Regions from separate parts of the Homo sapiens genome. Here region 2 is linked to region 1. Evidence: promoter capture Hi-C in human tissues and cell types (Jung and others, 2019). All regions are on one chromosome and are shown on one strand. The core of a region is centred on a gene start or on the middle of the fragment in contact, and the rest is flanking DNA. Distances in the headings are between cores, read along the strand shown.

What was found. The method cuts DNA at HindIII sites, captures the fragments that hold promoters and counts their contacts. A contact is called where the count stands out against the background at its distance.
Region 2: a contact is called between a fragment that was not itself captured here and the fragment with the promoter of CNBD2 in region 1, in 1 of the 25 tissues and cell types used here (IMR-90 fibroblasts).

Annotation. Positions count from the first base shown.
Region 1 is chr20:35,964,663-35,970,748 of GRCh38, reverse strand. CNBD2 (cyclic nucleotide binding domain containing 2) reads right to left here and starts at 2,159. Exons shown (of 12, transcript NM_001365709.1): 1 at 1,936-2,159. The coding sequence starts at 1,986. It also overlaps the pseudogene LOC124904982. The HindIII fragment of the contact is 12,223 bases long and covers 1-6,086 here.
Region 2 is chr20:36,010,097-36,016,182 of GRCh38, reverse strand. It overlaps CNBD2 (cyclic nucleotide binding domain containing 2), which reads right to left. Exons shown (of 12, transcript NM_001365709.1): 10 at 4,926-5,046. Among named protein-coding and RNA genes, the nearest start is that of NORAD, 38 kb to the left of the region's middle. The HindIII fragment of the contact is 8,643 bases long and covers 1-6,086 here.

The DNA.
Region 1 (6,086 bases), core at 910-3,409:
GCAAGACCCTGTAACAACAACAACAAAATGAAACAAACAAACAAACAAACAGCTCTGGCACAATGGCTCATGCCTGCAATCCTAGCACTTTGGGAGGCCAAGGTGGGCTGATCACTTGAGACCAGGAGTTTGAGACTAGTCTGGCCAACATGGTGAAATCCCATCTGCACTAAAAAAAACAAAAATTAGCCGGGCGTGGTGGTGGGCGCCTGTAATCCCAGCTACTCAGGAGGCTGAGGCACCAGGAGCACTTGAACCTGGGAGGTGGAGGTTGCAGTGAGCTGAAATTGCGCCACTGCACTCCAGCCTGGGCAACAGAGTGAGACTCTGTCTCAAAAAAATAAATAAAAACAAACAAAGGAAAAAAGAGAATGTTCTTTTTAAAGTGTATCATAAACAAAGTGAGACAACGAACTACAGACTGGAAAAATATACTTACTATGCATATAATCAACAAAGGATTACGATCCAAAATTTATTTTTTGTAATCCTACAAATCAAAAGAAAAATACAAATAACCCAATAGCAAAATGAGCAAAGGTAATTCAAAGGGAAAGTTCAAATTACCTATAAATTGTGAAAATATTGTTTTTATTCATTTGTATTTATATTTACATTGTTTGTAAAGAGGGGGTTTCACTTTGTTGCCCAGGCTGGTTTCCAACTCTGGCTTCAAGTGATCCTTCCACCTCAGCCTCCCAAAGTGCTGGGATTACAGGCATGAGCCTTCATGCCCCAGCCAAATTGTGAAACCATTTTTAACATTGCTAGAAATAATGGAAATGGAAATTAAAGTAATAACATGATACTATTTTGCACTTATCACTGGGAACTGGGAAACATGGTACAACCATGTTGAAGAGCAATTTGGCAACATTATATAAAGTTGAGGATGTGTGTACTTCACAATGGAAGAATTGTATGTACTTTATATGTCCTCTTCAGAGAAACATACATGTACAAGGGGATAGCCATGAGGGTAATCATGGCAACATTGTGTGTAACAGTGAATGGCTGAAAACAAATGTTCATTAGTAGGGATCGAAGGGATCAATACATTATGGTTCAGTCACAGGATTGAACACAGCACTAAGTCTGTGTGTGTCAATGTGGATAAAGCTGAAATGATTTTGAGTGGGAAAAAAGAACTATGATGCTATTTATGGTATCATTTTTAAACAGTGTGCCACATACTATATATTGTTTATGGATACATACACATGTGATAATATATAAAAATATAAACAGGAAGGGTGACACCAACTTCAGGAAAGTGGTTACTATTAAAGAGAAATAAAGGGGCATGGGATGGTAAAGAGCTTTCCCTACACCTGTAATGTTCTATTTCTTAAAAATTAGATATCTATGGAAATATGGGGAAAGGTACTTTATGAATAAAATTAATACTTACTGAGTACAATTTACTATTGTCAGGCATTATCCAAAGCACTATTCTGATATGTAAATCATTTAATCAGTAAATTTATGCAGTAGGTACTAGTATTATCATCTCACTTTACAGAGGAGAAAATAAAGGCACAGCAAACCAAGCAACTTGCCTGGGGTCACATGACTAATAGGTGATAGGGATTTAAACCTAGGTAGTCTGGCTCCAGAGTTCACAAGCTTAACCTATGACTCAATGTTGCTACCCTGACTCTATCCTCCCTCGTTCTCTCTGGATCTCATAATAGCAGGAAGAGTGGGTACAGAACAGGACTCAGTGGCTCTGAGTGTGGCTTATGGCTTGCCCAGTGTGGGGGGCTGGTAGGCTACAGGGCAGGGGTCCCTCCTTTGTGCCATGCTGTGACTCCAAAAGGTACAGGATGGCCACCATTCATCCAAGACCCCTCCTACACCTGCATCGACCTTCCTCAAAACACCTGTCTGTTCAGTCTTCTGCTCTTCCCTCCCAGGGCCCTTGCCCCTCCTCACCAGTTCCTTCTTCAGGAGCTGCCAGGCATAAGTTACCATATGTCTCCTCATGGTTCCTGTGCAGGCAAATGGCACAACTAGCCCCTTTGCCTTTCAAGGGGAGGACTACAAATTTTTCCCCAAAAATCCAGTAATACTAGAAACAAATAGATTTCCTCAGTAACAAGGCAAGAGCTCCACTCCACTCCTCCTACCATACCATCAGCTACTGGAAGCCCTGCTCTGAGAAAAATCATTCTCAGAATCTCCTAAGGTCACAATGAAAGATTCTGGAGGCAGGGGACACAGGGATTGGAATGTGGGAGTCTAACATTTATGGGATACTCACAGGCATTATCTCAGCTAATCCTCACAACCACCCAAACTTTTACTCAACTCCATACATAGGAGACTGGGGCTCAAAGTAGCTAAATGGCTGCCAGAGTCCTGGTGAGACAGGAGAATGGCACAACCCTGCTGACCAAAACAGGATCTAGGACCCCCTAGCTGTCCCCATCCCTCATTAACATAAGACACTCCTACCAGTGCCATGACAGTGTACAAATGTCTTGGCAATGACCAGGAAGTTGCTACCTCTTTCCTAGAAAACTCTAAAAACCCACTCCTTAATTTGCATTAACCTGCCCCTTAATTTGCATTAGCCTGCCCCTTAATTTGCATGTGATTGAAAGTGGGTAGGAATGCGTATACTACACTTGATCTCAGCCAAAAGGCTGAGAAGGGATTAGAGATGAGCATAAATACAGTTGCCAACATCTCATACACTGGGTATCGACTCCGGATTCATTGCCCATGAGTTAGCCCTGCCCCACAAGGAGAAGCACTATTCAATAAAAGATTGCTGTCTAACACCACTGGCTCACCCTTGAATTCCTTCCTTGGGCAAAGCCAAGAACTCTCCTAAGCTAAGTCTCAATTTGGGGGCTCACCTGTCCTGCAAAGATAGGGCTTTTTTGTTTTTTGAGACACTGTCTCACTTTGTTCCCAGGATGGAGTGCAGTGGCCCAATCTCAGCTCACTGCAACCTCTGCCTCCCAAATTCAAGTGATTCTCCTGCCTCAGCCGCCCAAGTAGCTAGGATTACAGGCGTGTGCCACCATGCCCGGCTGATTTTTGTATTTTTAGTAAAGACAGGCTTTCACCACGTTGCCCAGGCTGGTCTCAAGCTCCTGACCTCAAGTGATCCACCCACCTCAGCCTCCCAAAGTGCCGGGATTACAGGCATAAACCACCACTCCTGGCCAGGGCCTTTTTTTTTTTTTTTTTTTTAAGAAAGCAGTGTAGCTAAATGTCAGGTACACTTGCTCTCCATTTGTAGCATCCAATTAACAGAAGCAAGGTCTGGTCCAGCCTGGCCAATGTGGTGAAACCCCATCCCTACTAAAAATACAAAAAAATTAGCCGGGTGAGGTGGTGGGCACCTATAATCCCAGCTACTCGGGAGGCTGAGGTGGGAGGATCACTTGAACCCGGGAGGCAGAGGTTGCAGTCAGCCAAGATTGTGCCACTGCACTCCAGCCTGAACGACAGAGCAAGACTCTGTCTCAAAAAAAAAAAAAAAAAAAAAAAAAAAAGCGGGAGGGGGAATTGGCATAAATGGCATGCAGAGGAGGGAATGAGCAGGTGGGAGTCTCCATGACTCACTTTGGTGCCTTATCTACCGCCTGGTCGAGCTGCCACCATCTTGGGCAGAACTAGGTTGTAAAGTGGCCTTGTCTCGAGATACTCTCCAGGTGGGGCAGAGTTTCCTGGCAGGCATACTTTTGGTTGTAAATTGACTATTGTCTCTCAAGGCAATCTGGTGGGAGAGGTTTCTACTCTGGAGCTTTTAAGTAAGCACACAGATACACTTGCTCTAGGAGTGTCTGGTGAAGGGAAAGCAAAAGGTTATAACTGCATTTCTAATCAGCTAAGTAGGAAGTGGGGAACAGAAGAAAAACACAAAAGAGAAAGAAGAAAAAGATGATTTAAAAAGATAACTCATTCTCTATCTCATAGAAAAATGGGTGTACTTTGTTACAGCGGGAGGCTTCTAGGCTGGGAGTAGGTTCATCCAGCACCTTAGCCCAGGGACCACTCTGAGACTTAGAACTTGGAGGCCCTGGAACGTGGGTGCATAGTACTGTCCCATAAGTCTGGTTAAATCAGGACAATAAAAAAAAAACTCAGCAAAACAGAAGACCTCACCCAAATCAAGTGTCAAATATTGAATGGAACTTGGTGACTAGAACTCAAATCTCTGGAGTCCTTCTAAAGATATAGAAAAATATAGGCTCTAAAGTGCTTTTTTCTATTAAAGATGACAATTGAGTATCTCAATTTGCTCTTGCACCAGGATCCTCAGTAGAAAACTGTGATTTCAAGCATCACCTGCTCTGCCATTCCTATCCCGTGGGGTATATCTGTTAACTCTCCTCCAACTGATAGGTAGACAGAAGGACACTGAGTTCAGCAAAGATGGCTGGACAGCTGAGAAGAAAGACAAAGGCCACTCTTGGGGTGGGACAGTAATCACACACAGAGGTGAGAAGGGACAAAACTGGTTTTTCCCCCATACCATGAGAAAAGATGTAAAGAATTCAGAGAGAGAAAGAAGAGAAAGTTTTAGAAAGAGAGACAGAGAGATGAGGTATGGAGTTTTTGCCTCCCCCACTGCAAACCTAGTCTTAAGGAAGGAAATATAAGAGGATCCCCTTCAAAAGTGTAGGGGGCTTCTGAAAGAAACAACTGGGCCTGGAGAAAGCAAGAGAGATGGTAGGAGATGGCTATAGGCAGGAAGGGTGTCCCGTCAGTCCTCTGAACTGCCTGAGGATCCAAGAGTGACAAGGAAAGTATCCAGGCTCACAAGGGGCATCAGATGATGCCAGTACGACCTGATGAGACCCCAAAAATGTTTACTGCCAACCTCACCTCTTGCCAGCTGTGGTTGTACAATTTCTCTAGGAATTAGATCAGCTTTGGGGAAGAAGAAGCAGGAAGTTTGGAGAGCTATGAATGGGCCCAAGATGAATCAATAAGCCTGAAATTATATCCACTCAAAATTACTGGATTGGATCTCAATTTACCTGAAGACATCCTAAATTCAATTATCTGCAAGGAGGTGGGCTGGGGATTCAGAGTCACACATTTAAGTCAGTTCTAGAAACTAAGAAAGTTTCATTTCTCTTACAGTTCCTGATTTTATAACTGTAACTATTACAGGGTAGAATGCCAAAAAGAGCACTGGTCCTATTCCTATGTGATCTTAGGTAAGTCACTTAACTACTTGGGGCCTCATTTTCATAATGTATAAAATGGAGTTCGATTCAATTCCACAAACAATTTATGAGAAGATTCGGCCAAGCGCGGTGGCTCATGCCTGCAATCCCAACACTTTGGGAGGCTGATGCGGGTGGATCACCTGAGGTCAGGAGCTCAAGGCCAGCTCGTCCAACATGGTGAAACCCAGTATCTACTAAAAATACAAAAACTAGCCCAGTGTGGTGGCATGCACCTGTAATCCCAGCTACTCGGGAGGCTGAGGCGGGAGCATCATCTGAGCCTGGGAGGCGCAGGTTGCAGTGAGCCAAGATTGCACCACTCAAGCCTAGGTGACAGAATGAGACTCCGTCTCAAAAAAAAAAAAAAAAAGAGAGAGAGGGAGAGAGAAGATTCTTATTGTTTTGCTGATTATAAAAGCTATACAACAAATGCTTACAAAGCATATGAAGGTGAATAAGATGTGGTCCCTGCTTACCAGGAGTTCACAATATGGTGGGGAAGTAAAATCCTCAGAGAAAGTCTTGCTATAATAAAGCTATGAAAGATATATGAGGCCGGGCATGGTGGCTCACGTATGTAATCCCAGCACTTTGGGAGACCAAGGTGGACAGATCACGAGGTCAAGAGATTGAGATCATCCTGGCCAACATGATGAAACCCTGTCTCTACTAAAAATACAAAAATTAGCTGGGCTTTATAGCGGGAACCTGTAGTCCCAGCTACTTGGGAGGCTGAGGCAGGAGAATTGTTTGAACCTGGGAGGCAGAGGTTGCAGTGAGTCGAGATCATGGCACTGCACTCCAGCCTGGCAACAGAGTGAGACTCCGTCTCTTAAAAAAAAAAGATATATGAAGAGGTGGTTGGGTGCAGTGGCTCACGCCTATAATCCC
Region 2 (6,086 bases), core at 2,498-4,997, 44 kb before region 1:
ATTGAGTATTTTGTGGGATGCCACAGTTAAAATTTGTCTCATGATTTTCCTCTAATCACGTCTCATGATTAGACAGGAGTTATAAGATATTGAGAGGATGGCCACAGAGGTTAAATGACATTTTCATCACATCCTGTCAAGGGACAATACTATTAACATGATGTTTTACTGTTGATGTTGGCCTTGATGATCTGGCTGTGTTTTTCAGATTTTTTCCATTGTAAAGTTACTTCATTCCCCCCTTGCCATACTGTACTCTTTGGAAGGAAGTCCTATGCATGGCCCACATTTAAGTAGAGAGTTAGGCACTCTCTCCTTTAAGACAGAGTATCTACATAAATTGCTTGAAATTTATTCTGCAGGGAGATTTGTCTCTTCTCCTCCATTTATTAATTCATTATTAATTCATTTATATCAATATGCACTCATGAATGTTTATTTTGTACTTTTGGTTATAATCCAACACTGCTTTATTTTGTTGTTCAAATTGTTTCAGCTTTGACCATTGGGAGATCTTTTAGGTGGCCCCCATATGTCCCTTGGACATGCTCCCATATTAAAGCAGTTCCTGCCCCCTCCCCTAGCTCTTCCTTACTTTCTGGCATTTACAATATGTTCTAGACTCATCCTGTGTATTTCCTGCCCTAGTCCTAGATTCAACCATTCTTCCAAAGAGCCCTTGTTCCTTTTATTGGGAAACTGTATTAGAAATCATGATCTGGTTTCTTGACATTGGCCTGGGCAATGGTTTTTTTTGGGGTATGACCCCAAAAACACAGGCAACAAAAGCAAAAATAGACAAATGAGATTGCATCAAACTAAAAAGCTCCTGCATAGCAAAGGAAACAACCAACAAAGTAAAAAGACAACCTAAAGAATGGTAGAAAATATTTGCAAGCCGTACATCTGATAAGGGGATAATAACTAAAATGTATAATGAACTTAAACAACACAGTCTCAAGAAATCAAACAGCCTGGTTAAGAAGTGGGCAAAAACTCTGAATAGACATTTCTCAAAGGAAGACATACAAATGACCAACAGGTATATGAAAAAAATGCTCAACATCATTGATCATCATGGAAATACAAATTGAAAATCCAATGAGATGTTGAGTCATACCTGTTAAAATGGTTACTATCAAAAAGACAAAATATGACAAATGTTGGCAAAGATTTGCAAAAAAGGGAACCCTCACACACTATTGGTGGGAATATAAATTAGTACAGCCATCATGAAAAACAGTATGGAGGCCAGGCACGATGGTTCACGCCTGTAATCCCAGCCCTTTGGGAGGCCAAGGTGGGAGTATTGCTTGAGGCCAGGAGTTCCAGACCAGCCTGGGCAACATAGTGAGACCCTGTCTCTAACGAAAAATAAAAAAAATTAGTTGGGCATGGCAGCACACACCTGTAGTCTCAGCTATTCAGAATACTGAGGTGAGAGGATTGGTTGGGCCCAGGAGTTCAAGGCTGCAGTGACCCATGATCACTTGCCACTGCACTCCAGCCTGAGTGACAGAGCAAGACCCTGTCTCTTAAAAAAAAAATAAAAGAGGCCAGGTCCAGTGGCTCATGCCTGTAATCCCAGCACTTTGGTAGGCCGAGGTGGGTGGACCATGAGGTCAGGAGTTCCAGACCAGCCTGGCCAACATGGTGAAACCCCGTCTCTACTAAAAATACAAAAAGTTAGTCAGGCATGGCGGCGTGTGCCTGTAATGCCAGCTACTCAGGAGGCAGAGGCAGGAGAATCACTTGAACCCAGGAGGCAGAGGTCACAGTGAGCCGAGATGGCGCCACTGCACTCCAGCCTGGGTGACAGAGAAAGACTCTGTCAAAAAAAAAAAAAAGAAAGAAAGAAAGAAAAGAAACCAACCAAGATCCAAGTGTTAAGTGTGCTCATTGCTGGAAGGGTAACATTTCTTTTAGGCCCTATTATCTGACAGAGCAAAACAGTTGTATGTTTCCACCCATACCTATACATATTTCCTTTTTTTTTTTTTGAGATGGAGTCTTGCTCTGTCACCTAGGCTGGAGTGCAGTGGCACAATCTCAGCTCACTGCAAGCTCTGCCTCCCGGGTTCCCGCCATTCTCCTGCCTCAGCCTCCTGAGTAGCTGGGATTACAGGTGCCTGCCACCACGCCCGGCTAATTTTTTTTGTACTTTTAGTAGAGACGGGGTTTCACTGTGTTAGCCAGGATGGTCTCGATCTCCTGACCTCGTGATCCGCCCTCCTCGGCCTCCCAAAGTGCTGGGATTACAGGCGTGAGCCACCACACCTGGCCTACCTATACATATTTCTATACATAATTATCTGTAAGTATATATTGAGTTAAATTTCAGTGACTACTGATGTTTTCAACTCTAATCCATTACTACATGGAGTATTCTAGGCTCCCCCTGCTTTCTATATATTCCTGCTTAAATTGTGAAAAACCTGGCTCCCACCCTCTGCCATCCATTTACTGAACTGATTTATTTCAGTGTTAACACTGTGTACATGTATAGTAGTAGAAGTATTGTTAATCCCTACCTTCATGACAAACAGCTTTATCACTAGGGCACAGTGCTCAGACACAGTTCCTTTTGCTTTAGTCTTACCAGTTCCACTCATTTCCAAAGTTACTTAAGTCAGCATCTTTTCCCCCCAACTCCTTCACAGAGATTGTTTCATACATTTATAATGGTTAGATTATCTTGTCATAGTTTGTATTCCTTCCTCAGATCCACTAACCTCCTAGATGATTTTTTTCTTTTTTCTTTTTTTGAGATGGAGTCTCGCTCTGTTGCCCAGGCTGGAGTGCAGTGGCGCGATCTCTGCTCACTGCAAGCTCCAACTCCCGGGTTCAAGCAACTCTTCTGCCTCAGCCTCCCGAGTAGCTGGAACTAAAGGCACCCACCACCACACCTGGCTAATTTTTTGTATTTTTAGTAGAGACGCGGTTTCATCATGTTAGCCAGGATGGTCTCAATCTCCTGATCTCGTGATCCACCTGCCTCGTACTCCCAAAGTGCTGGGATTACAGGCGTGAGCCACTATGCCTGGCTGATTTTTTTTCTTTTTTAACAAATTGCATACATTAAGATTCACTCTTTGTGCTGTAAAATTAAATAGGTTTTGACAAATGCTTTTGTATCCACCATTACAGTACCATAGAGAATAATTTTACTGCCCTAAAAGTCCCCTGTGCTTCACCTATTCATCCCATCTCCTGAACTCCAAACCTCTTGCAACCACTGATAATTTTACTATCTCTATAGTGTTTTTCTTTTCCAGAATGTCATAGAATTGGAATCATGCAATATTTAGCCTTTTCATAATGGATTTCTTAGAAATTGAATTCTTTTTTTTTTTTTTTTTTGAGACGGATTTTCACTCTTGTTGCCCAGGCTGGAGTGCAATGGCGCGATCTCAGCTCACTGCAACCTCCGCCTCCTAGGTTCAAGCAATTCTCCTGACACAGCCTCCCGAGTAGCTGGGATTACAGGTGTCCACCATGCCTGGCTAATTTTGCATTTTTAGTAGAGACAGGGTTTCTCCATGTTGGTCAGGCTGGTCTCGAACTCCCAACCTCAGGTGGCCTCCCAAAGTGTTGGGATTACAGGCGTGAGCCACGATGCCTGGCCTAGAAATTGAATTTTTTAGAAATTAGATTCTATAAAAATATTAGGTAATTTATGTATTTGTTATTAATTTTTTTTTTTTTGAGATGGAGTTTCGCTCTTGTCACCCAAGAGGAGTGCAGTGGCACAATCTCGGCTCACTTCAACCTCTGCCTCCTGAGTTCAAGCAATTCTTGTGCCTCAGCCTCCCAAATAGCTGGGATTTCAGGTGCCTGCCACCATACCTGGCTTTTTGGTTTGGGTTTTGGTTTTTTTTTTTGGAGACGGAGTTTCACTCTTGTCCCCCAGGCTTTAGTGCAACGTCACTATCTCAGCTCACTGCAACCTCCGCCTCCCAGGTTCAAGTGATTCTCTTGCCTCAGCCTCCCGAGTAGCTGGGATTACAGGTGTGTGCCACCATGCCTGGCTAATTTTTGTATTATTAGTAGAGATGGGGTTTCACCATGTTGGCCAGTCTGGTCTTGAACTCCTGACCTCAAGTGATCCAACCTGCCTCAGGCTCCCAAAGTGCTGGGATTACAGGCGTGAGCCACCATGCCTGGCCCCAGCTAATTTTTGTATTTTTAGCAGAGATGGAATTTCACCATGTTGGCCAGACTGGTCTCGAACTCCTGACCTCAAGTGATTCGCCCGCTTCAGCCTCCCAAAGTGCTGGGGCTACTGTGCCCAGCTGGTATTGTGTTTTTAAATGTCAAATTTCAATTGTTCATTGCTGGTATAAGGAAAGCAATGGACTCTCTATATTAATTTTGTATCCTGTGACCTTGCTATAATCTCATTAGTTTCAGGAGGTTTTTCTTTTTAAAAAAATTGTTTGGAATTATCTACATAGACAATAATGTTATCTGCAAACAAAGATAGTTTTATTTCTTACTTCCCAATCTGTATACCTTTTATTTCCTTTTCTTGAATGGACTAGCTAGGACTTTCAATACAATGTTGAATAGGAGTGGTAAGAGGGAACATCTTTGCCTTGTTCCTGGATTCAGCTGGGATTACAGGCGTACACCACCATGCCCAGCTAATTTTTGTATTTTTAGTAGAGACAGGGTTTCACCATGTTGGTCAGGCTGGTCTCAAACTCCTGACCTTGTGATCTGCCCACCTCGGCCTCTCATAGTGCTGGGATTACAGGTGTGAGCCACCGCGCCCGGCCTATTCTTATCACATCTTTACAAATCAACATAATTCCTTAATATCAAATATGGAGGGAAGTGTTTTTAAACCTTTACTGTCATTACTTAACATTCCAGCCCATTCATGTTACGTACTCCATGGTGAACAGAGCTCTTGGCACACTCACCAAAATTTCTCCCTGCTCCACAGTGTGCACCTTCACGTAGGCCCCCACTGCAGCCTCCTTGGGGAGCTCACCAGGCTTGATATTGATCATGGCACATTTGATCGACTGAGCAGGCCTGGATCTGAAATGTGACAGCTTGTTAGAGAGCTCATCTGTAACACAGTCTGCTCCTGAGGCCCTGGCTAATCAGCCCTCACTCTTCTGCACATGGAGGGCTCCCCTCCCTGGGGAATTCACAACTTCCCAGAAGGCGAGAAAACTCAAAATCAAGCCCTGACTCCCATTGTCAGGAATTGGAGGGTGCGAAAGAGGAGACTTGGGAGAGGAAGGTGATACAGGCCCTCCCCTTAAACACCTGAGGGCTGTTCTCCTGGAGGCAGGGGCTGATGATCCCATGCAGCCAAGCCAGGCCTAATGGGTGGGAAGTCCAGGCTGGCCCTCTCATGCTCAGCATGAGGAAGGAATTTCTTTCTTTTTTTTTTTCTTTTTTTTCTTTGAGACGGAGTCTCACTCTGTCGCCAGGCTCGAGTGCACTGATGGGATCTCTGCTCACTGCAACCTCCACTTCTGGAGTTCAAGTGATACTCATGCCTCAGCCTCCCAAGTAGCAGGGACTACAGGCACCCACCACCATGCCCAGCTAATTTTTAGCAGAGACAGGGTTTCACAATGTTGCCCAGGCTGGTCTCAAACTCCTGGCCTCAAGTGATCCACCCGCTTTGGCCTCCCAGAGTGCTGGGATTATAGGCGTAAGCCACTGCGCCCAGCCAAGAGGAAGGAATTTCTTTTCTTTTCTTTTTTTTTTTTTTTTTTGAGACAGAGTTTTGCTCTTGTCGCCCAGGCTGGAGTGCAGTGGCACAATCTTGGCTCACTGCAACCTAGATTCTTCAGAAGGATTATCCATAACGTCTCAAAAGTCACAGGGTGCTCGTTATGGAGGCCAGGAGCTTGGAAATGTTAACAGGCAAAGGACTCACGTGAAGTGGCCCTTGTAGGAATGCAGGGATTGTGACACTGGTGCCATTGTTAGTCTCATTATGACACTTCAATTTCAAAAGTAGCAGGGGGAGGGGGCTGTGCTGCTCTGGGCCCAGCAATGAGCTGATTCTAGGCTGGTCCCCACTGAGTCTCCTCTTCTGCTCTTCAGTCTCTCCAGAAAAA